7 separate regions of the Homo sapiens genome follow, and all the other regions are linked to region 3. The links are contacts of gene promoters, found by promoter capture Hi-C in blood cells and fetal thymus (Javierre and others, 2016). All regions are on one chromosome and are shown on one strand. Each heading gives the region's core, a stretch centred on a gene start or on the middle of the fragment in contact. The rest is flanking DNA. Distances are from core to core; before and after follow the strand shown. Region 1 overlaps NETO2 (neuropilin and tolloid like 2). Region 2 has its middle 51 kb from the start of DNAJA2-DT. Region 3 holds the start of ABCC12 (ATP binding cassette subfamily C member 12). Region 4 overlaps NETO2 (neuropilin and tolloid like 2). Region 5 has its middle 80 kb from the start of DNAJA2-DT. Region 6 overlaps NETO2 (neuropilin and tolloid like 2). Region 7 overlaps ITFG1-AS1 (ITFG1 antisense RNA 1).

Region 1 (3,655 bases), core at 1,156-3,655, 1.0 Mb after region 3:
CCAACAGACAAAGAGACATTATAAGGAAACTATTGATCAGTATTCGTCAAGAAAATAGATGCAAAAATTTCAATAAAATATTAGCAAATCTAATTCAGCAATATAAAAAAATACATAATAGTAAAGCGTGGTTTATCTCAGGAATGCAAGTCTGGTTCAACATTTGAAAAATCAATGTAATTCACCATAAAGACTAAAGAAAACTATGATTGTCTCCATTTGTTAAAATTCATCACCCATTCATGATAAAAATCTCAGAAACATAGGAACAGATGAGACTTCCATAACCTGAAGAAGGGTATCTACAAAAACCTACCAGCTAAACCAGGCACAATGGCATGCATCCATAGTTCCAGCTGTTAAGGAGGCTGATACAAGAGGATTGAGAATCACTTGAGCTCAGGAGTTCAAGGCCAGCCTGGACATCATAGTAAGAGCCTGTCTCTTAGAAAAAAAAAAAAAAAACAGAAAACCCTACAGCTGACACCATACTTAGTGGTGAAAACCTGAATTCTTTCCCCTTCAAAATCTGTAGCAAGCTAAGTCCTATTCAATGTTATACTAGAAGTTGTAGCCAGTACAAAAAAGCATACAGATTGGAAAAAGAAGAAATCAATCTTTTTGAAGATATCGTTGTCTATATAAAAATTTCCATAGCATCTGAAAAGCTCCTGGAACAAATATATCAGGTTAACAAGGTTGCAGGATGGAAGACCAGTATACAAAAATCAATTGCAGGTCAGGCACTGTGGCTCCCGCCTGTAATCCCAACATTTTGGGAGACCAAGGCAGGTGGATTGCTTGAACTCAGGAGTTCAAGACCAGCCTGGGCAACCTGACGAAACCCAGCCCCTACAAAATATATATATATACATGTATATATATATATATATGTATATATATATATATAAAAATTAGCCGGGCATGGTGGCTGCAGCTGTAGTCCCAGCTACCCGGGAGGCTGAGGCAGGAGGATCACTTAAGCCAAGGAGGCGGAGGCTGCAGTGAGCCAAGAGCGCACCACTGCACTCCAGCCTGGACAACAAACTGAGACCCTGTCTCAAGAAAAAAAAAAATCAGTTGAATTTTTATATACTAGCAATGAAAACTGTAGTTCAAAATTAAGAAAACAGTACCATTTAAAATATTACTCCACCAAAAAAAACTGTGTAGTATCTGTTAACTGAAAACTTAAAAGACCATAATGAAAATATTCAGAGATGACCTAAGTAAATATACTGTGTCAATGTATTGATAGGCCCAGTAGTGCTAAAATGTCAGTTCTTATGAAAATGATCTACACAGATGAATACAATTTCAATCAAAATCACAGCTATATTTTTTGTAAAGATTGACAAACTGATTCTAGAATGTAATGGAAAAGCAAGGGATTACAGAAGCCAAAATTATTCTGAAAAAGAACAAACATGGAAGACTCATGACCTGATTTCAAGACTTAATGTGAAGCTTCAGTAACCAAGACTGTGGTACTGACAAAGGACAGACACACAGATCAATGGAACAAGATAGTCCAGAGATTAGATTTCTGCAAATATGATTTGTTAATTTTTTTGACATTCAAAGGAAATTGAGTGGAGAAAGGATAGTCTAACAGATGGTGCTGGAACAATTGAACCTCCATATTCAAAGAAAAAAAAAATGAACCCTCACCTGTTGAGTGTAGGTGTTGCCTCACCTACATCCAACACTGTATTTAAAAATTAACTCAAAATAAATCATGGACATAGATGTAAAATTATAAAACATTTAGAGGAGAATATATGAAAAGAATCTTACTGGGTTAGACAAAGAGTTCTTAGATGCAACACCGAAAGAGTATCCATAAAAGAAAAATTCAGGCTGGGCGCGGTGGCTCACATCTGTAATCCCAGCACTTTGGGAGGCTGAGGCGGGCGGATCTCGAGGTCGGGAAATCGAGGCCATCCTGGCTAACACGGTAAAACCCCGTCTCTACTAAAAATACAAAAAATTAGTTGGGCATGGTGGCGGGGGCCTGTAGTCCCAGCTACTCAGGAGGCTGAGGCAGGAGACTGGCATGAACCCGGGAGGCGGAGCTTGCAGTGAGCCGAGATCATGCCACTGCACTCCAGCCTGGGCAACAGAGCGAGACTCCATCTCAAAAAAAAAAAAAAAAAAAAAAAAAAAAAGAAATTTATAAATTGGACTAATGAAAAAGCTTTTCTCTGTGAAAGACACTGTTGAGTGAGAAAAAAAAAAAAAAGCCACTGACTGGGAGAAAAAAAATCACCTATGAAAAGATTTCTTTCATCCAGAACTCAAAACTCAACAATAAGAACAAAACCCAATTATGAAACAGATTTCAACAGATACTTCACCACAGAAGATTTAATCATTACAAAAATGCAAATTAAAACCACAATGAGATGGCACTATTCTCCATTAGAATAACTGTAATTTAGAAAAATCACTAAGTGCTGGGAACTATGTAGAGCAGCTGAAACTCTGATACAGTCCTGGTAGGAGTGCAAAATGATAGAGCCGCTCTGGGAAACAGGTTGGTGGTTTCCTATAAAGTAACTGTGTGACTCAGCCGTCTCTTCTGGATGGGTACCCGGGAGAAATGAAAGCTTATGTTTATGGAAAAAAACCTATAAGTAAATGTTCATAACAACTTTATCTGTAATAACCAAAAACTAGAAATGTTTCAAGTGTTCTTTAGCTTTTAAAAGAATAGGCCAGGTGCGATGGTTCACGCCTATAATCCCAGCACTTTGGGAGGCTGAGGTGGGGGGATCACTTGAGGTCAGGAGTTCAAGAGTAGCTTGACCAACATGGTGAAACCCTGTCTCTACTGAAAATACAAAAAATTAGCCGGGCCTGGTGGCAGGTGCCTGTAATCCCAGCTACTTGGGAGGCTGAGGCAGGAGAATTGCTTGAATCCTTGAGGCGGAGGTTGCAGTGAGCCAAGATTGCACTACTGCACTCCAGCCTGGGCGACAAGAGCAAAAACTCCATCTCAAAAAAAAAAAAAAAAAAAAAAGAATAAACTGTGGTACATCCATATAGTAACATCTATTCAACAATAAAAAGGGATAAACTACAGCTACATGCAGTAACCCCAAATGCATCATGCTAAATAAAATGAGCTAGACTCAAAGGATACATGCTGTGTGATTTCATTTATATGAAATTCTGGAAAAAGTGAACTGTAGGACAAAGAACAGATCATTGCTTACCAGGGATGAAGACTGGAGATGGATTTTGACTGCACAGTGACAGCACAAGAGAAGTTGAGTGGGTTGTGGAACTGTTCTTGAAGTGTCAGCAAGGACTGAGTAGTGGATTGAGTAGAGCAAGCAGACTCAAAGAATTTGCTTTAGAAGTATAAATTGTCTCGTTAGAATTCAACTGTAAAGAGAAAAATGTATATAAATTGGTACAACCACTTTGGAGAGCTATTTCGGATGTGCTCTGGTAAAGCTGAAAATGGTCACATGCTACTACACAAGTATACTTCTAGATGTATACCCAAATGAAATCGTCATACCTGTGCATAAAGAGAAGACAACAATGTTTACAGCAGTATTAGCTAATTATAAAAGTAGAAGCAAGCTAAATGCCCAATAGGAGAATGGATACATAGTGATTTATTTCTATAATTGGTATGAGGTTT
Region 2 (3,374 bases), core at 268-2,767, 1.1 Mb after region 3:
TTTATGCCTTCTACTCAGCATTCACAGTGCTTCTTCAATCGGAGATTCCTGTGTTGCAGCAAACCTGACTATTCTTTTTCCATACGGTCATTCTTCACAGTGTTCAATTATCTCAAATTCTCAAGGGCACTCATCCTTTTGATGCTGTGTCTGCTGATCCCCTCTGATGGTGGGTCCATTTCTCATACCAGTGCATCTTTCTCATGTGTGAGTGTGTATATGCATGTGTGTGTGTATGTGTGTGCGTGTGTGTTCGCGAGCACGTGTGTGTTCGTGAGCACGTGTGTGTGTGCATGTGTGCGTGTGTGTGCGCGTGTGTGTATGCACGTGTGCGCGTGTGCGGGTGCATGCGTGCCTGTGCATGCGCGCGTGTGTGTGCATGTGTGTGCACAAGCATGTGTCCCGTGAGCTCTGGCATGTGGAAACGGCCCCATAGAGCAGCTCTAGGTTTGCTTCTGCTCAGGACCCCAGTATTTCACCACACTATGATTCGTTTTCATGTTTATTTATTGGCTCCTTATGGCCACAGCAAGCAGGAAGAGTCCATTTGGATTCCACATCCTTGTGTGGTACAGGTTTGGGGGTTCAAAGTCTCAAGGAAGCTTTTTTTCTTTTCTCACCCAGAGCCATGGCAAAATTAACTCCTATGCTTGGGTAGGAAGGCAATGTTTTTCAGTCCCCTGGACACAGTGGTCCCGCCATTCCAGGCCTCAGATTTTAGCAGAGGCCAGTTACAGCTCCCCACCATTTGCACGCTGGAGGCTGGGTCTCCTATCCCACCATGGCTAATAAGCCATCTGGGCCGATATCTAGGCCACTATCTCCCTAAGCCATCATGGCACCAGCTCGCATGGGTACCACTCTGGTGCAAGCTGCCCTTCATGGCTGGTACCTGGGAAATTCTCTTCTTTATGGCTTGGCCATGGATTTGAACTTTTAAATATATATAATTTTTTTAAGACAGGGTCTTGCTTTGTCTCCCAGGCTAGATTGCTTTGTCTCCCAAGTAGCCTAATCTCGGCTCACTGCAACCTCTGCCTCAGCCTCCCAAGTAGCTGGGATTACAGGTGCATGCCACCACACCTGGCTAATTTTTGTATTTTCAGTAGAGACAGGGTTTCACCATATTAGCCAGGCTAGTCTTAATTTCTGACCTCAAGTGATCCGCCTACCTCAGCCACCCAAAGTGCTGGGATTACAGGCGTGAGCCACCGTGCCTGGCCTAAAAAATATATTTTTAAATTTATTATTGGCAGGAAGAGGGGGATCCACATTAGTTCATTGTATCATCTTCTGAAACCCATAGAGTCATTATTTTTTTTAAGTAGTATAAATTAAGACCAAAAAAAATTTAGAGTAGGCCATAAAAACCTGTGTAATTGGCTGGGCACAGTGGCTCACACCTGTAATCTCAGCACTTTGGGAGGCCAAGGTGGGTGGATCAAGAGGTCAGGAGTTCGAGATCAGCCTGGCCAACATGGTGAAACCCCATCTCTACTAAACATACAAAAATTGGCTGAGTGTGGTGGCACACGCCTGTAATCCCAGCTACTCAGGAGGCTGAGGCAGGAGAATTGCTTGAACCTGGGAAGTGGAGGTTGCAGTGAGCTGAGATTGCACCACTGCACTCCAGCCTGGGCAACAGAGCAAGACTCTGTCCAAAAAAAAACCGTGTAATTGTTACATGGAGCTTCCTGACAGCCAAAGGGAAATGAGATATATACAAGGTTCTTTTTCACACACACACACACACACACACACACACACACACAAAAGAAGAAAATATTGTCAAGTATAAGAAAAACTTACTTTTTACCTTAGCACAATTTTTTTTTTTTGAGACAGGGTCTCACTCTGTTGCCCAGAAGTGCAGTGGTACGAGCACAGCTCAGTGCAGCCTTGACCTCCTGGCTCCAACAATCCTCCTGCCTCAGCATCCCAAGTAGCTGGGACCACAGGCGCCTGCTACCATACCCAGCTAATTTTTCACATTTTTTTGTAGAGATAGGATCTCCCTATGTTGTTCGGGCTGGTCCTGAACTGCTGGGCTCATGCAATCCTCCTGTCTCAACCTCCCAAAGTGCTGGAGTTACACGAGTGAACCTCCCATGCCCTGCCCTACCTTCATAAAATTAAACCCTGATCTTCCAGTATTGGAAATAGAGGGAGAACCTCTAGGTGGGGAGGAGTAGACAGCTCCTGTTATTCTAAATGTGTGTATAATGTTTACATTTTTTCTTAATATAAAATTAATAGGTGCCCGTTGTGGAAAATATGACAACTCCATATAACAAAAAAGAAAGTAAAACTCTTGGTTACTTGATGTTCAATAAACCATAACCTTGGTCATGCATCTGCAGAATACTTAGAATTGATACGCAGAATCATGACTCTGAGGTGTCTCCTGAATCCTCAAAGAAAGACGAAGCTTGCCAAGGAGGCGGAGTGAGTGGACTCTGACATCAGGCTGCTCTGCCACTTGCTGCATAACTATAGCAGGCACATTAACCTCTCTGTATCTCAGTTTCCTCAGCTGTAAAACTGGAATAATAACAGTACCTACTTGAAAGATTGCAAAGATTATATGAGTGAATAAATATACATTCTGGGCACATAATAGGTGCTATATAAAGGTTTGCTATTTTCATAGAAATCATTTTAGGCCAGGTGTGGCGGTTCACGCCTGTAATCCCAGCACTTTGGGAGGCCAAGGCTGGCGGATCACCTGAGGTCAGGAGTTTGAGACCAGCCTGGCCAACATGGTGAAACCTCGTCTCTACTAAAAATACAAAAATTGGCCGGGCATGGTGGCGTGCGCCTGTAATCTCAGCTACTTGGGAGGCTGAGGCAGGAGAATCCCTTGAATCTGGGAGGCGGAGGTTGCAGTGGGCCAAGATCGAGCCACCACACTCTAGCCTGGGCGACAGAGTGAGACTCTGTCTCAAAAAAATAAATAAATAAAAGAAATTATTTTAACGTTATAGTTTAATTATTGGCAAATTGATCATACACAAAAGTCACATCTGGTAACTCATTTGTCTAGAAGAGTTGATGAACCAGGACACTGCTTTCCTTGACCATGTTGGAAAATAGGAAGCTCACGTCCTTGTTGTACAGGAACACAGTAGACAGGATGGTTAACATGAGTCTGAGCTCATTTTTAGCTTAATATAGACACAAACACCTAGATACAGAAATAATCATAGATTTGTGTGCATGCATGGGTTGGTATGCATGTACATTTTTCCCAGCTCTGCCCACTGAGCGGGCCTCAGTAGTGATGACCACAGCCAATATCAAGTCTTGTTTGCTAAACAGTGTTCTCCAATGAAAGGAACCAGGGCTCCTTGGAGAAATGGTTGATGCTAGAAGTA
Region 3 (3,201 bases), core at 156-2,655:
GTGGAAATCCATCTCCGCCCAGCCTTTCATGGAGATAGAGGAAAACTGATCGGCATTCTTCCTCCATAAACTTGACAGCACTTGACTCCGTTTGGAAGATTGTGGAAGCGAGTCTTTGCTGTGTTTATGAGACCCCCGGGGTTGTTGCGAAGATCAAGTGATAAAGAGGATGAAGAATTTTGCGATACACAAAGGGCTCCAGAAATGTCGAGTGATATTATTAGCAGTGATTTGCATTCATGAAGGGAAGAATGGACGGAAATTAAATGGAACACTTTGGACACGTGTAAGGAAACTGCTGTCGGTCTAGCTCACTCCCCAGGCCGGGGAGCCTTCCTGGGAGGACCCATTTTCCTACACAGCTGCCCACAGCCCCTCTCCATTTCCACCTCCCTCTAGGTAGGAAGGGAACTCAGGTTGGGCAAAGGCGGTGAATTCGCATCTCCAGGAAGCGGCGGGGCCGGAAGGCAGCCAGCAGGGGGCGGCATTGCGCAGGACAGGAGAAGGTAGCGGCCAAGTTCCTCATGAAATCCACGTGCGTGAGGCTGGGAAGGTCCTCTAAGATGTTTAAATAACCCTTAAAGCGGAATCAAGATTTGTTTTTTTCTGCAGTTAGAGAGTTTGCTCCCTCCCAGCCGGCTCGCTGAGCGCTGTGGAACCCTTCGGCTGGGCTCCCCTGAAATCGGGCGCTTGTTCTGGGACAGGCGCAGAAGGGACCCCGGGAATCACGCTTGCGCTCGGGATGTGCAGGGTTCCAAGGGTGACACAGGGGAACTTTTCTATGCAAGGGCTAGCTGCTAGTGCAGGTCTCAGACTTACCTTCCGTTCATTTCAAGACAAATTGAGCTCAAATTACCCTTTTCTTTTTCGTTAAATGAATGGGGAATGAATGAATGAGATTTTCTGTTTTGAAGATGAGGCTCATCTCCCCTCCCCTCGCCTCCCCTGCCCTCCCCTACCCCTGCCCTCCCCTACCCCTGCCCTCCCCTCCCCTCCCTTCCCTTCCCCTGATCCCAAAGTTGATTCCCGGTTGCAGGAACACAGCGTAGAAAATTCGATGCATTCTCTCAGGAAGGAGCCTGGAGTGGGACTCAGGGGACCTGGGTGCTGGTCTCAGCCCCACGCCAGTCGTGGACAGGCTTCTGTTCCTTGGGCTTCTCGTCTGTAGAATGACGGTTGGAGAGAGGATTTTTCTCCTTCTCTTCTACAAGGATGTGCTGTGACAGCCAGGGAAGGGCTGGCCATGCACAGTGCTTTCATGCATGGGCTCTGACTGTCACCAAAGAGCCAGACCCGGCCACAGGCCATCCTGGAAGAGGGGAGAGCCCTTTAATGTGGGCAGAGGGAATGTTGGCCCGCCAGAGTTCCCTCTCAGGTGTGGTGGGAGTGGCAGTTGAATGGGGCAGTTGGAGAGGAGGACTTCAGGCGGGTGGGACAAGAGAAACTGAATCTGAGGTCCTTGGGGAGAAGCAGGCCCTGGAGTCCTGGGCAGCAGATGCCAGGCTCTGAGCCCCATGACTGCTGACCCTCCTCCCCTCCCTCTCATCCTCAGCCCAGGTAAAGCTTCATTTCCAGCCCAGGTAAAGCTTCTCCCTGTAACAATTAGTGGCCACCATTTAGTCCCAAGGGCCTTTGTTTCTCATCCTCAGGACAGGCTGTGTGTGTGTGTGGTGGGGGGTTTGGGGGAGGTGACACCACTGAATGGGGCTGCCCAAGTGGGAGGCAGCAGGGACGAGGCTCCCAGAAGAAAGGCAGCCCCTCTTCCACTTTTGGAGCCCCCGCTATCATAAAAGAAAAGGCAGAAATGCCAAGACGCGATTTCAAAATCTCTGAAATACAAAAGCCTACATTGAATATTTTAAGTCTTTTCCCACACATGCACAAACACAAACACATATACAGGGTAGTGTTCACAATTTAATTATGGGATTTATACCTCCCCCCCAAAAAAAAAGACCTGGAAAGCTTTACTGCAGTTCTCATATGAGGTTTTCATCTTTCTTTCTTTTTTTTTTTTTTTTAACTTTTAAATATATTATTTTCCTGGGAGGGTAGATTTGAATTGCTCTGAATCCAGGCTCTGCATCCTTCTTTGATCGTGTCGGAATGTGTCTGTAACTGGATGGATGACCTCTTTTGGAGATGCCATCACTGGCCACTGTTTTAGGCCTTCTGGGAGATGAGGGTACTTGAGCAAAAGCACCCCCACTTCCCTTCCCACACCCCCAGCTTGGTGCTGTCCCCTGCATGCACTTCCCTCTGCCACCTCTCTGCCTCTCCCTGCCTCCCAACCCCAGTCCCTCATCACTCACAGGGCTTTCTGATCTGGCTGCCACAGGTGCCTGGGACCTGGGGACAGACAGGAGAGGTGCGGTGCAGGCAGGGCCTGGGAGAGCTCCCCAGTGTCTCCTCTGTGCTGGAGGCCAGTCAGGCCCTGGAGGAAGGGGCTGTGGGAGTTGGGGGAGACCATCAGATATTGATAACTTTGGTGGCTTTAAATTAACAATGGATTTATTAAGAAAGAAGTAGGGCTGTAGTCTCATACCTGGGAAAAATTTTATGACTAAAGGTGTGCCTGCTTTTGGTTGATGGAGGAACTCCCATCATGAGCACCAAGGAAGACCCAGAGTCCAGTTCTCAAACATAAAGTTGTTAATTTTCTGGGCTAGACAGGGGCAGAAATGAAATATAACAGAGCAAAGTGGGCAGGTGTGGAAAATGGTTCTTCTTGAGATGACTTCTAGACATCTTTTGTTCTCTCTTGGGGCAGAGACAAGGATAGAGAAAAAGGCCTCAGGAAACACTATAAGGAAGACAGCAGTGCCAATGCAATAATAAATGTTACATGACCCCAAATCTCAGAGTCACAGAGACAGTAAGGAGTGGTGGGGATTGTGGCAAACTAAAGCATGTATACCCTGCCCAGGAGGGGCTGCCGTGCTCAACGTAAGTGGATTGTCACCACATGAACATACAGAGCTCTTGATATTTGACGAAAGCCAGAAGCCAGTCTTATTTTTTTTTTAATGTGGTATCTCCTCATTTTTAAATGTTTTCCACAAATTGGAAAAAAATGTTTAAACTATGCAGGCCATATAAAATGGAACTGCAAGTTGTACATGGTCTTTGTGTCCTGTGCTCTAAACAGAGGCCTTCCTGCTTCTGCCTGTCCAGTCTGTTGAGGTTAGGTTAGGAACCCCC
Region 4 (3,385 bases), core at 588-3,087, 1.1 Mb after region 3:
CTAATTGCTGTATATACAGCCTTTAATCTTTGAGATCAGTGAGAAAACTTTATAAATTGCTTACTAAAATGAAAGCCATAAAATTTAATAACAGAAGACATGAAATTTAGCAATCTTGTGGAATTCATTACACAGTATTAACTGTCACGCAGGGTACCCCACACAGTGTCCCAGTGTTGAACACAAAATGCAAATCTGGAAGGGATAAATATCTTCAATTCAGAAACAGCATTAAGTATACCTGTATAATACTGTCACCATTATCTTCCATCTGCAATTCACCGCATCATCCCCCAAATGCCCACAGATCTATTGCAGGAAACCTACTAATCCCAACATCTAAAGCATGTAGGAATAAGATGTGATATTCCTTTTGTGTGTGGGGAGAGTGTCAATCTAAACGTTTAACAAAAGGCAAAGAATGTTCACATTTCACATCACAAAAGAGATTTCAAAGACTCCTTTAACCCGACAGCGCTTATGTCAGTGTCTTTGTCATGTTTCATAGAATTGTTAGACTTTAAAAGAACCTCCTGAAAGTCTGCCTCTGAACATTTGTATGGTTCTGCCAATGTCTGATGAGAAGAATGCTTCCCTGTTTGAGGAGTGTGTTCACTGATGAGAGGGGACGGGAGAAGCCTGGTTGTGATTTCAGGAATAATTCTCAAAGGAGATTATACTCTTATTGCAAAATGGGGTCTGCTATATATTGTTCATGTCACTTTATTGCAAGTGACATGAATTATATGACATTAAAAATAATATGCCTTGAATCACACTGATTAGACCCAGAAGGATCATTGAGTTTTTGGTGGTTTTAAAGATCCAAGAAAGACCTATCTAGCCCAAGTGTATGAATGAGAAGACTGAAGCCCACAGAAGTGAACTCAGCACCAGTGTCTCAAGAACCCCAGTACTCTGGTTTTTTTCTTTTTTGAGACGGAGTCTCGCTCTGTCGCCCAGGCTGGAGTGCAGTGGCGCGATCTCGGCTCACTGCAAGCTCCGCCTCCCGGGTTCACGCTATTCTCCTGCCTCAGTCTCCCAAGTAGCTGGGACTACAGGCGCCCGACACCATGCCCGGCTAATTTCTTGTATTTTTAGTAGAGACGGGGTTTCACCGTGTTAGCCAGGATAGTCTCAATCTCCTGACCTCGTGATCCACCCGCCTCGGCCTCCCAAAGTGCTGGGATTACAGGCGTGAGCCACCGCGCCTGGCCTTCTGTTTTTGTTTTTCTGTTTTTTTGTTTTTTGAGACAGAGTCTCGCTCTGTCACCCAGGCTAGAGTGCAGTGGCGTGATCTCGGCTCACTGCAAGCTCCGCCTCCCGGGTTCATGCCATTCTCCTGTCTCAGCCTCTCGAGTAGCTGGGACTACAGGCGCCCGCCACCATGCCCGGCTAATTTTTTGTATTTTTAGTAGAGACGGGGTTTCACCATGTTAGCCAGGATGGTCTCGATCTCCTGACCTCGTGATCCGCCCGCCTCGGCCTCCCAAAGTGCTGGGATTACAGGAGTGAGCCAAGGCGCCCAGCCCAGCTGTACGTTTTAAAAGTCAAGCACTTCTGTTTAGCAGCCCATGTAAGCTTGTCAATCATTCTGAATTGAAATGTAATTTATTCTGTAATTTCTTCAATGCATTATATTTCCCCTTTTCTTTAAATGTATGTAACATTGTGTTCTACAGTTTTGCTGCCATGATTCCTTGGCACCGTGAATTCTTACTAAGCAATGTTTGTTAACAGTATACAGGCTCGATACTAGGCAGGAAGAGCTCCTGTGTTCTTGCTTTTTTGATCTTTTTTAAATCTAAAGGAGACGTGTATTCTAGAAATTAAATATTTGTGTGCCATATCTCTTGAGTTTTGGAGAATGATTGGAGTTTGAGTTACTGTAAATAACAAGATTATCTTGGATATTTTAGTTTTCTGCAAAATCACTTATGTTTTATATACCTCTGCTAATAATTCAAAACTCTGAATTTGCTTTACTTTAACTTTTTAAAAATGTATTTTTGCAATTGGTTTAATGACTACCAAAGCCTAAAAAGCTAATGACTAGGGTGCATGTTTAGTATGCACTGTCTAGTGTAAGCTTTTTAAAAGCAGTAGATTTTTATTAGAGATGAACTTCCAGGCCATATGAGAATATGCTTAATCCTAGATTTGGCATTTTATAGAAAAGAATTTTGACTCTTGAACTAGAATTAAAAACTTGTTCTGATTTCCTTGCTTGCCTCAATTTCTAAAGTCTAGAAGTGGCAAATAATTTAGATCACTTATACCAACAGAATCTGTATTTCCTTCCGGGGCAAAGTTGGCATTTCCTATCCACTAGCTTCCAAAATACAATAATCCTAGTTATGATAAGGGCAACTTTATTTTATTACACTTAGAACCATTTTATGTTTTCAAATTCATTAATCTTCAAGTGAAGATGAACTAAAGAAAAAAATGCGTTTTGTCCCAGGTTGCCTGCAGGTTGCAGTCTGCTGCATCCGGTCACTGAAGAGGCAGTGAGGACTGTCACAGAGTGGGCTGGAGAGCCAAGCTGTTCTTTCGGGGTGCACAGTGCACCAGCCATAACACAGCTTAGAAACATGGATGAGTATACCTCAAGACAGGTGAACACGGAGTGGGGAGCAAAAGAAGGCAGAAACTCCTCTGAGTTTCACAAGCATCAGGCACAGATCAGGGCACAGAGGAAGAAGAAAGAAGGTTTACCACTGGTCTGTCTCTGTAAATTGTTACAGAGCAATTTTACTTTGTGTTATTTAGGATCAAGAAACAAGTGTTATTTAAAAGTTCTCTTACCCTCCAACCTTTGTCATACTCCACAATATCTGATGCCATTTAGGCCTCTGAGCCAGTACACATTTTATTGAAACTTTTTTTCTTTTGAGGCAGTCTTGCTTTGTAACCCAGGTTGGAGTGCAGTGGCACAATCTCAGCTCACTGCAGCCTCGACCTCTTGGGCTCAGGAGATCTTCCCGCTTTAGCCTGCCTAGTAGCTGAGACTACAGGCACGCACCACCACACCTGGCTAATTTTTTAAAATTATTTTTGTAGAGACAGGGTTTGGCCATGTTGCCAGGCTGGTCTGGAACTCCTGAGCTCAAGCAGTCTGCCCGCCTAGGCCTCCCAAAATGTTGGGATTACAGGAGTGAGCCACTGCTCCTGGCCCAGCTGAATTTTTTTTTTTTTTTTTTTAAGAAATGAAGTCTCACTGTGTTACCCAGGCTGGTGTCGAACTCCTGGGCTCAAGCAATCCTGCCTTGGCCTCCCAGAGAGCTGGGATTACAAGCATGTTGAAACATTTTGAGTAGTTGTTGATTGCTAAAGGAATTTTCATCAGAAATCTAGGTATTCAGCCATGCTTTCCAAATCTTGC
Region 5 (3,495 bases), core at 908-3,407, 1.1 Mb after region 3:
CAGGATCTGCCCTTGCGGGTGCAGCTGCAGTCCCCCAAACTGTGGCTGCAGACCTGGGCCTCCCGCTTCACAGAGCAGGCCGGAGCCGGGGACAAGCGGGAGTCCTGCCCCTTCCAGGTTGGTGGGACAGGAGCTCCTGGATGCAGCTGCGGCCACCCTCCCAGGCACAGGCCCAGTGCATCTCTGCAGCCTGCGTCCTCAAGGCGGCTGGGGAAGACCGCCCAGCCTCCTGTCCCTGCTCCTGCTGCCTGGTTTCTCTCCCGTCCTGGCGCCCACTCCGATACTGGAGCAGGGCTTAGGGCCGAGCCCCAGGGGTCATGAATGGCAGCAGGAGGCAGACAGATTCCTGGGTGGAAGCGGGGGACCCCAGTAAGGCCCCACCTTCAGGCCAGAGAGGGCCTGAAGGCTGGGGGCTGGGCTGCCAGTCCTGCGGACCTGAGTGCGGACTCATGGTGCCTCTTCCAGGCCCACCCATGGCCACCCATGGACCAGTGGGCATGCACTTCCTCCCCTCTGAGCGACATAAAAGCCCTGGGCTCAGCCAGAGCAAGAGAGAGGATGGCCAGAGCAGGGCAGAGAAGGTGAAGGACAGAGAGAGGACAGGAAGACCAGCTACAGAGAGAGGCTATCCTTTCTGCTCAGAGCTTCAGAGACCTGCAGAGACGTGGGAATAACCAGCCTCCTGGAGAGGAGCTACCCTTTCCAGGGCCTCCTCTCTGCTGAGAGCTGAACTGGATGGGCAACCTGCCTACAGAGATGAGCTACCCACTGCGGATCTCCCGAGCTGTTTTAACACTAAATAAAGCTTCTCTTTGTCTTCTTCATCCTTCACTTGTCTGAGTACCTCATTTAGAACTCAGGTGAAGGCCCATGAGCCACAGAAGTTTCCAGGAAGAATATCAACATCCTCCTCAAAGATCCCTTAACAATATCAGTAATCTTAGGACTCCCTTTCCCCAGAAGGGACAGCCCAAGAATGAAAGACACCCAAAGGGAAGGAGAGCCAAAGCCCTCGCACCCCAGAATACCACAGCGGTGGCCCCAGCAGCATTACTGGCGTCTGCTCCCCACCAGGCCTGGCCATGGCTTCCTTGGTAGCCTGCATCCTTGCAAGCAAATGATCTGCCTGCAGTGCACAGAAAGGAAGCCCGGATGAGCGAGGGCATGGCTTTCCTTCCCTCCCAACCGGTAAGGAAGGCCAGGAGAGACCTGTACTGTTCACCTCCATGTTCCTTGTGCCAAGAGAGTGTGTTTTGAAGTGAATTAAGGTGCCCTCGAAGACTAGAAAACAGGGAGGGATGGGCATAGTGGCTCACACCTGTAATCTTAAGGTTTTGGGAGGCCAAGGCAGGAGGATTGCTTGAGCCCAGAAGTTTGAGACCTGCCTGGGCAGCATGGTAAAACCCCGTGCCTACAAAAAAATATATATAAATTAGCTAGGCATGGAGGCTCATTCCTGTAGTCCCAGCTACCTAGGAAGCTGAGGCGGGATGATTGCTTGAGCCCAAGAGGTCAAGGCCATGTGGCTATGATCATGCCATTGCACTTTAGCCTGGGCGACAGAGCAAAACCCCGCCTCAAGAAAATTAAAGAAAAGAAAAAGAAAACAGAGAGAAAGGTCTCTTTCCAAGAGTTAAACTATAAAATCAGCTCAGGGCAAAGCAGAACCATGCGCTGTCACACTAGAGAAACAGCAAGGCCAACCATGACCTATTATGAGCACCAAAAACGTGTCTAAAGACGGCATGTGTTCCAGCCAGGTATGGTGGCTCGTGCCTGTAATCCCAGTACTTTGGGAAGCCAAGGCAGGTGGATCACCTGAGGTCAAGAGTTTGAGACCAGCCTGGCCAACATGGTGAAACCCTGTCACTGCTAAAAATACCAAAAAGTTAGTGGTGCGTGGTGGGATCCAAGCTACTCGGGAGGCTGAAGCAGGAAAATTGCTTGAACCCAGGAGGTGGAGGTTGCAGTGAGCCAAGATCGTGGCCACTGCACTCCAGCCTGGGCAATGCAGCGAGACTCTGTCTCAAAAAAATAAATAAATAAAAATAAAGGCAGCATGTGTCTGTGAGAAGGGGGTGGCCAGCTCTGCAAGCAGAGGAGAGGGCAACCAGTGCCAGAGACAGACCAGAACAGTGTCCAGCAGAGCAAGTGGCCCTGTCTCAGTTCATTAAAAGAAGAAATGCTTGACCTAACGGGTTCCGGAGGAAGGCAGGACCACACTGGGAGAAGACCACCACTTCCCAGGGCACAAGTCACTGGAATCCCTAACCGACCTCCGTCACGTGTGCCCACCATGAACCCAGGCCTGCCATGTCATTGGCCAGCAAGGAAAGAGGGCTGGTCAGGCCATACAGATCTCTGGTCTACCCGGCAGTATTCATTTTCACGGGTGATCTCTCGGTGAGTAGATATTCTGCCTCTGTCTCTGAGGGTTCTGGAGGTGTGCATTGGCCTTCCTGAGTCTGAGATGCTGACCAGGTAGAGACTGTGAGCCTGGGGCTGAGGGTTGGACCAGGGACTGTGGTGAACCCACCAGGGGAAAAACTGCTATCTGGATTCAGCCTCTCCCCTCAGTGTCTGCGAGTACTTTCCACCAGAAACTTCTACACAAAGCGGGTGCTGGGTATTGGATGGATAAGTGGACAGACAGACACACAGGCAAACAGAAGTGTTACTGCAAGTTGAAGCCTCCTGTCTGGCCCCTAAAGCTGAGCTTTTTCCACCATGTGTGCCATCTCTTCAGCCTTTTCCTCTCTCCCTGCTAGGACTGGCTCAAGGCCAGGACCTGGGGCTGCTCACAAAGTTCTTGCTGGCTGTTTTTTTTGTTTTGTTTTGTTTTGTTTTGTTTTGTTTTGTTTTGTTTTTTCTAGAGACAGTGTCTTGCTATGTTGCCCAGAGTGCAATGGCACAATCACAGCTCACTATAGCCTCCAACTCCTGGGCTCAAGCGATCTTCCCACCTCACCCTCCAGAGTAGCTGGGATGACAGGCATGTGCTGTCCCACAACTGGCTAACATTTTTTTTTTTTTTTGAGACGGAGTCTCACTCTGTTGACCAGGCTGGAGTGCAGTGGCGCGATCTCCGCTCACTGCAAGCTCCACCTCCCAGGTTCATGCCATTCTACTGCCTCAGCCTCCCAAGTAGCTGGAACTAAAGGCACCCACCACCACACCCGGCTAATTTTTTGTATTTTTAATAGAGACGGGGGTTTCACCACATTAGCCAGGATGGTCTCGATCTCCTGACCTCATGATCTGCCGGCCTAGGCCTCCCAAAGTATTGAGGTTACAGGCGTGAGCCACCGTGCCTGGCCAACATTTTTATTTTTTTGTGGAGATGGGTTCTTGCTACATTGCCCAGACTGGTCTTGGACTCCTGGGTTCAAGCGATTCTCCCACCTCAGCCTCCCAAAATGTTGGGATTACAGGTGTAAGCCACCATGCCCGGCCTCTTGCTAACCATTTAAGCTGGAGTCCAGCAGCAGGGACAGA
Region 6 (3,169 bases), core at 512-3,011, 1.0 Mb after region 3:
GGAACTCCTGGGCTCAAGCAATCCTCTCGCCTCAGCCTCCCAAGGTGTTGGGATTTGCAGGCATGAGCCACCAGCGCCCTGCCCTCCATGTTCTTATTTAAGCTGTTTCTTTCTCCTTTTCCTGGGCTCAAGGACTGTAAGGTCCAACCAGAGTATGCCTTCTTTTTTGGGAGTTTTCCTCATTCTATTTCCCTTAACCCCCAGCAGAATGGACCTTCTGCTTCCATTATGCCTTCTGCATATCTCCTGTTAAACTCCGTTTCACCTTGTATTGTAGATTCAACAATACATTGATTCCTTGTGGATGCTGGTTTGTCCTAATATCCATCATTTATTTAGCAGAATGTCTGGCACATAAAAATACTATATACATTATCTCATTTAATCTTCACAACCACCAATGAGGTTGACCTATTTATACGTCATCTCCATTTTACAAATAAGTAAACTGAGCTGAAAAGGCCTCACAGCTGGTAGAAGGCAAAACTTGAACCCTAGCCTAGATTCATGAAACTCCTTAAGTCCATACTCTTAACCATTTTGCTCGATTTCTCTCTCCACACCTGTGCATCCTTGGTGCCCGCTCTTCAGTGGATACTCTGTAAGTGCCTATTCACTGAATGAATAACTCCAGTTCACGCAGTAGTTCGGGACAGGCTGGCAGTGTGGTTTCCTTTGAAAGGGAGAGTGCAGCATCCATGAAAATGTTTCTTTAAATCTTCAAACCACATACACAAAACAATTCAATATGTTGTTGATTGGGTCTCAGAAATGTTCAACATGGAAAAAAGCTTCAGTGTTAAATATGGCTAGCCTTTGTAGCACAGAGCACAGCATAGTACTGCACAATGATAAGACAGTTTGAATTGATTTCTAGGAGACTGCTGCCCCCTTACTTCTGTCTTGATTAAGAATGTTCTCAGAAAACAGATATAATCTAATTGAACTTTCACTGCCATAGCACACTGCAGAGCCAGCTATACTGCATGTAAACTTTGAGATGGACTACAGTAAATAGAGGAATAGTTAGGATGAGCAAGGTCTGTTGCAAAAAACAAGTGTTTTTTTTTTTTTAAACAAAACTATTAAGTTGAAAAATGCTTTCAATGCCATGTATTATTAAATGCTTATAAATGAGTACAAAACCACTTGTCTTTTCTTGGGTTATCTTAAGGGTTAGGTAGCAAATCAGAACATAACATTTAATGCTTAAAGATCTTGAGAGTGAATTTTGAGTAATAAATAGTGATTTTAGTTAATCTTTTTTTGTCATCCAATTTTATTTATTGACTTAGTAAAATGTAGTATAGATTCAATTTCATAACTTTTCTTCTCTGTTATTTCTCTAGTGTTGTTAATAACAGTACTGGTAGTGGAAGGGATTGCCGTGGCCCAAAAAACCCAAGGTAAAGTACTTACATTGGTGACTTACTGCATGTTTAAGACAATGGACTGGCTTATTTGAAAGGATTGCAACTTTTGGGTACTATTTTCATAATCCCTTTGGGGTGTTCCAGTGACCTAAGGCTTTCTGTCAACCCATCAGCCTCAATTTAACTGAGTTTAGCTGCAGTTAACTAAATTGTCAGCATAAAGTCTTGCCCTGATAAATTTTTAAAATTGACATCACTAGTAGCTCCTAGCATACTGTGGATTATGTCCAAAAATTAAAGGAGATTTATATTTTATCACTAAGCAAAAATAAAAGTCCCTTTTTCTAATTTAAACAAATGAAACACTTCAATTAATATCTTATTCAAAGTCCTTTGGTTCTGTTCTTTTGTCTTGATTTATGTTTGATGATTAGCTAGTGTGATTTTTTTTAGCCAGATTTTTATGTCTGAATTTAGTACATTTCCAGTGTAATGTTGTTTGTTTTTTATTTTCATCTAAGTAATACATACACATGATAAAAATCAAAGCATTCCTAAAAAGTTAATTAGGAAAAATGAGTTCCCCATCTTGCCCTACTTAACTTCCTGCTCCATGGAAATAATCACTCTTAGCTGATTCTTTTGGTATTTCCCTTCCTTTCTCTAAATAACATGCTGTATTGCTACTTCTTGGTTATTTCAGTTTTATAAATTAGATAATGATTTTTCACCGTGGAAGATGAGAATTTAGCTCTTTCACGCACCTACCGTCCACCCCATCCATATTTGAGTGTTCTCGTACCTTGCATTTGTAGCACCCTTCTCAACACAGTTCTGTCATAATTCTGGTTAACTCAGTATTCAGGATTTACATTAAGTCACTCATTCAGCTGAATTTTATCTTTAGGAAATCTTTTTTTTTTTTTTCTGTTTTAATTTTTAAAATTCCCTTTCCTCCATTTTCTCTCTTTTGCCTTTTCAGGAATTCTATTATTTTACTTGGTTATGGCCCTCTTGGTTTTTGTTTCTGGCTCTTCTGTTTTCCATCTTTTTGCTCCACATTCGCTGAGACTTCCTCAACTTTACCTCTAAACCAGGAGTTAGAACACTTTTTCTGTAAAGGGTCAGATCGTAAGTGTTTAAGGCGCTGTAGGTCCTACAGTCTCTGAAGCAACTCTTCAAATTCCTCAACTCTTCTGTCCTGGAACAAAAGCACACAAATGATGGGGATGGGTATATTCCAGTAAAACTTTATTTACAGCAGGCTCCAGGTCATGTTTGGCCCAGGGTCATAGTTTGCTGAACTCTGCTCTAAATGTTCTGCTGATTTTTTCATCTCTTCTGTTTTTGGAAGCTTTTTTGGTTCTGTTTTCTGAATATAATATTGTTTGTACAGTATCTTTGTTTTTGTCTTATAGATTTACTTGCTTTTCTTTCTCAGGATATTAAATGATTGTTTTGTGGTGGTGGTGGTTTTTAAATATTTTTCTTGCATAGTCTTTATCTCCTCAGAGTTGCTTTTCTCCAGTTTTATTATTATTATTATTTATTTATTTATTTATATTAGAGATTTTCCTCCAATGTCTGGTGATCCTTGAGGGCTCATATTTTAAGAGGGGCACTAAAAACTGATCGTTAACTGTCTGCAGGTGTGGGCAAGGATCAGTTACTGGCTCTCACTGTTGACAGATCTGACACTGGGGAACTCCTGCATCTGCATCAAGCCTTTCCTAGGGGCTGTTTCGACTCCCAGAGAAGAATCTTTTCTTTTCCTGCTTAAAGGCTCAATATCTGAC
Region 7 (3,602 bases), core at 840-3,339, 1.0 Mb after region 3:
ATGTGACTTTAAAACTTATTATAAAGCTTGAGTAATAAAGATAGTGTGGTATTGGCAAAGAGAGACACATAGACCAATGGAATAAAATTGAGTCCAGGAATAAACTCACACAAATATAGACATTTGATGTTTGACAAAGATGTAAAAGTTACTAAGTGGAAGACAGTCTTTTCAACAAATAGTGTCAGAACAATTGATCATCTGTATTTGCCATAAATACAAAGGGCAAAGGAGAAAAAAAGAACCTTGATCTAAACCTCACACCTTACACAAAAATTAACTCAAAGTGGGTCATAAATTCAAATATAAAATGTAAAACTATAAAACTTTAAAAGAACACATAGAATGTCTTCATAGGCTAGGGGTAAGCAGAGTTCTTAGAAATGACACCAAAGTTATGATTCTTTTTAAAAACTGATAAATGTGACTTCATCTAAATTAAAAATGTTTGCTTTGACAAAGACACTTCCAAGAGAATGGACAAGCTATATATGCAAAGAAAAAAAAATTTTTTTTTTGAGATGGAGTCTTGCTCTGTCACCCAGGCTGGAGTGCAGTGGTGTGATCTCGGCTCACTGCAGCCTCTGCCTCCCAGGTTCAAGCAATTGTCCTGCCTCAGCCTCCCAAGTAGCTGGGACTACAGGTGTGTGACACCATGCCTGGCTAATTTTTGTGTTTTTAGTAAAGATGGGGTTTCACCATGTTGGTCAGGTTGGTCTCGAACTGCTGACCTCAAGTGATCCACCCGCTTCAGCCTCCTAAAGTGCTGGGATTATAGGCATAAGCCACCATGCCCGGCCAAGAAAATATTTTCAAATCACATATCCAACAACAGACTTGTATCCTGAATCTATAAAGAACTCTCAAAACTCAACAATACAAAAACTCAGACAAGATGACACCTAAGGAAGCTCCTGCCTCTCCCAAAGCTGAAACCAAAGCAAAAGCTTTGAAGGCCAAGAAGGCAGTGCTGGAAAGCATCCACAGCCACACACAAAAAGGAGTATCTGCACTTCACCCACCTTCCAGCACCCCAAAACACTACAGCTCTAGAGACAACCCAGATATCCTCAGAAGAGTGCCCCCAGGAGAAACAAGCTTCATCACTCTGCCCGATTCCCTGAGCATTGAGTGTGCCATGAAGAAGACAGAAGATAACAACACACTTGAGGTCACCGTGGATGGCAAAGCCAACAAGCACCAGAGCAAACAGGATGTGGGGAAGCTCTGCAACACTGATGTAGCCTGATCAATCAGGCCCAATGGAGAGAAGGCGTGTGTTTGACTGGCTCCTGCTTATGATGCTTTGGATGTTGCCAACAAAATTGGAATCATCTAAACTGAGTCCAGCTGGCTAATTCTAAATGGACATCTTTTCACCAGTAAAAATAAAAAACAATTTGAGTGGGCAATAATTTGAGGATACTTCACTGAAGAGGATATATAGGTAGCAAACAAGCATATGAAAAGATGTTCAACCGGATATGCCATTAGGGAAATGAATACTAAAACTATGAAGAGATACCAATACACATCTATCATGAATAAAAAGTGCTTTCATGGATAAAACAAAGAATACTGACAATTCAAAGTGCTAATGTGGATGAGGAAAAACTAGAATTTTCATATATTGCTGGTGGGGATGCAAAATAGGAAAGCCACTCTAGAGAACAGTTTGGCACTTTCTAAAATCAATTGCATTTTTATACGCCAGCATGAACAATTAGAAAATGGGATTTAAAAACAGGTAACATTTATAACAGCATCGAAAAAGTCAAGTACCTGGGAATTAGTATAACACAAGATGTAGCATACATCTCTGTCTGGTAAATTATAAAACTTCTCTGAGAAACGCTAAGGAAATTTTCAATAAATGCACATCTGTAACCATGTTAATGGACAGGAAGACTCAAAATTGTAAAGATGTCAAAGCCCTCCCAATTCCACTCATCCCAACGGGGTGTTGTGTTGCCGAGCTTGCTAAGAGGTTTCTAAAATGTACACGGAAATATAAGAGACCAAGAACAGCCAAGACAATCTTGAAAAAGAATAAGGACCTGCTCTACCAGGTAACAAAATAATAAAGTTAGGGTGATTAGGCCAGGCATGGTGGCTCACGCCTGTAATCCCAGCACTTTGGGAGGCCGAGGCGGGTGGATCATCTGAGTTCGAGACCAGCCTGGCCAACATGGTGAAACCCTGTCTCCACTAACAATACAAAAATTAGCCGGGCGTCATGGCACAAGCCTGTAATCCCAGCTACTCGGGAGGCTTGAGGCAGGAGAATTGCTTGAACCCAAGAGGCAGAGGTTGCAGTGACCCAATCATGCCATTGCACTCCAGCCTGGACAACAAGAGCGAAACTCTGTCTCAAGAAAGAAAAAGTTAGGGTGATTAACAGAGTGCGGTATTGGTGAAGAGATAGACAGACCAATGGAACATATTAGAGAGTGCAGAGAAAGACTCATACACATGGAAGTCTGATTCAGGAAGGAGGTAACACCACAGAGCAGAGGAATATGAAAGGCCTTTTAACAATTTTTATTATTTAACAAACATTACCAAATAACTGCATCAAGAATTTACACTTATGGTTTCATACTACACCAATAAACTAGCATTTGTTTCAGCTTTTAGTAAATAGGTTTTTTTTTTTGGAGGAGGGGGTGTTGATTTCAATGAAAGAACACCAGGTTAGAAAGTAAATAGGTTTAAGCAAACATATCTCTTTTCAACATGGGATTTTGGTTTTAAAGAAAAAAAAAAGATACCATATATGTTAGTAACTTTATTCTAAGAAATACACAGTCATATGTCACTTAATGACAGACATACATTCTAAGAAATGCATCATTGTGCAAACTTCATAGAGTGTCCTTACACAAACCTAGATGGTGTAGCCTATTACACACCTAGGCTCTACAGTTTATCGTATTATTCCTATGCTACAAACCTGTACAGCAAGTGACTGTACTGAATAGTGTAGGCAATTACTTCCTACACACAATGGTAAGTATTTGTATATCTAATGATATCTAAACATAGAAAAGGCACAGTAAAAATATGGTATTATAAGCTTATACAGTTGTGTATGTGGTCCATCATCCACCAAAAGGTCATTATGCAGCACATGACTAAAATTAGGGCATTTCTTAGTTTTTCACAATCAAAGGAAAGTAACTAATGACCAGAAATTTTCTTGACAATTTGAAATTTTCCTGGTAAAGATGAAATATTTTATATTAATAGGAAGCAATATTTCTTAAAAGCGTTCTTTAAAATTATGCTAACCAGAAATTTAGAAGTTTAGGGGACAGTGTTACTGAAAGAATTCTTTGACCCCCTGACAGCTCTTCTTCAATATCAATAACACAGGAATGATTGTGGCTCTTGCATTTTATGGGCTGAATTGTGTTTCCCGCAAATTCACATGTCGAAGCCCTATCCCTCTATATAACTTTTTGGAGACAGGGCCTTTAAGGAAATAGTTAAGGTTAAATGAGGTCAGAAGGGTTGGACCCTAATCCAATAGGACTGGTGTCCTTATTAGAAGAGGAAGAGACCAGGGGTGCACACAGAAAGAGTAAAAGGCCGCTGAAGAC

The links. The method cuts DNA at HindIII sites, captures the fragments that hold promoters and counts their contacts. A CHiCAGO score of 5 or more calls a contact.
Region 1: a fragment that was not itself captured here is called in contact with the fragment with the promoter of ABCC12 in region 3 in 10 of 17 cell types (megakaryocytes, total CD8 T cells, non-activated CD4 T cells and 7 more); the score reaches 10.6 in megakaryocytes.
Region 2: a fragment that was not itself captured here is called in contact with the fragment with the promoter of ABCC12 in region 3 in 14 of 17 cell types (total B cells, naive CD8 T cells, non-activated CD4 T cells and 11 more); the score reaches 12.5 in total B cells.
Region 4: a fragment that was not itself captured here is called in contact with the fragment with the promoter of ABCC12 in region 3 in 7 of 17 cell types (naive B cells, naive CD4 T cells, erythroblasts and 4 more); the score reaches 7.3 in naive B cells.
Region 5: a fragment that was not itself captured here is called in contact with the fragment with the promoter of ABCC12 in region 3 in 15 of 17 cell types (total CD8 T cells, total B cells, naive CD4 T cells and 12 more); the score reaches 11.7 in total CD8 T cells.
Region 6: a contact is called between a fragment that was not itself captured here and the fragment with the promoter of ABCC12 in region 3, in 16 of 17 cell types (total CD8 T cells, naive CD4 T cells, naive B cells and 13 more). The highest score is 28.0, in total CD8 T cells.
Region 7: a fragment that was not itself captured here is called in contact with the fragment with the promoter of ABCC12 in region 3 in 17 of 17 cell types (naive B cells, total B cells, naive CD8 T cells and 14 more); the score reaches 22.5 in naive B cells.

The regions. Positions count from the first base shown.
Region 1 is chr16:47,112,953-47,116,607 of GRCh38, reverse strand. All of the region lies in intron 6 of NETO2 (neuropilin and tolloid like 2), which reads left to right. Among named protein-coding and RNA genes, the nearest start is that of NETO2, 29 kb to the left of the region's middle. The HindIII fragment of the contact is 412 bases long and covers 2,200-2,611 here.
Region 2 is chr16:47,022,781-47,026,154 of GRCh38, reverse strand. No RefSeq gene overlaps it. Among named protein-coding and RNA genes, the nearest start is that of DNAJA2-DT, 51 kb to the right of the region's middle. The HindIII fragment of the contact is 1,826 bases long and covers 605-2,430 here.
Region 3 is chr16:48,154,197-48,157,397 of GRCh38, reverse strand. ABCC12 (ATP binding cassette subfamily C member 12) reads left to right here and starts at 1,405. Exons shown (of 31, transcript NM_001393797.1): 1 at 1,405-1,557. The HindIII fragment of the contact is 11,154 bases long and covers 1-1,565 here.
Region 4 is chr16:47,077,146-47,080,530 of GRCh38, reverse strand. NETO2 (neuropilin and tolloid like 2) reads left to right here. Exons shown (of 9, transcript NM_018092.5): 9 at 1-2,828. Among named protein-coding and RNA genes, the nearest start is that of NETO2, 65 kb to the left of the region's middle. RefSeq lists an enhancer at 921-1,685. The HindIII fragment of the contact is 508 bases long and covers 1,584-2,091 here.
Region 5 is chr16:47,052,126-47,055,620 of GRCh38, reverse strand. No RefSeq gene overlaps it. Among named protein-coding and RNA genes, the nearest start is that of DNAJA2-DT, 80 kb to the right of the region's middle. RefSeq lists a silencer at 2,637-2,837. The HindIII fragment of the contact is 2,699 bases long and covers 808-3,495 here.
Region 6 is chr16:47,130,206-47,133,374 of GRCh38, reverse strand. NETO2 (neuropilin and tolloid like 2) reads left to right here. Exons shown (of 9, transcript NM_018092.5): 2 at 1,350-1,406. Among named protein-coding and RNA genes, the nearest start is that of NETO2, 12 kb to the left of the region's middle. The HindIII fragment of the contact is 1,936 bases long and covers 794-2,729 here.
Region 7 is chr16:47,147,869-47,151,470 of GRCh38, reverse strand. All of the region lies in intron 1 of ITFG1-AS1 (ITFG1 antisense RNA 1), which reads right to left. It also overlaps the pseudogene RPL23AP72. Among named protein-coding and RNA genes, the nearest start is that of ITFG1-AS1, 5.6 kb to the right of the region's middle. The HindIII fragment of the contact is 1,978 bases long and covers 1,101-3,078 here.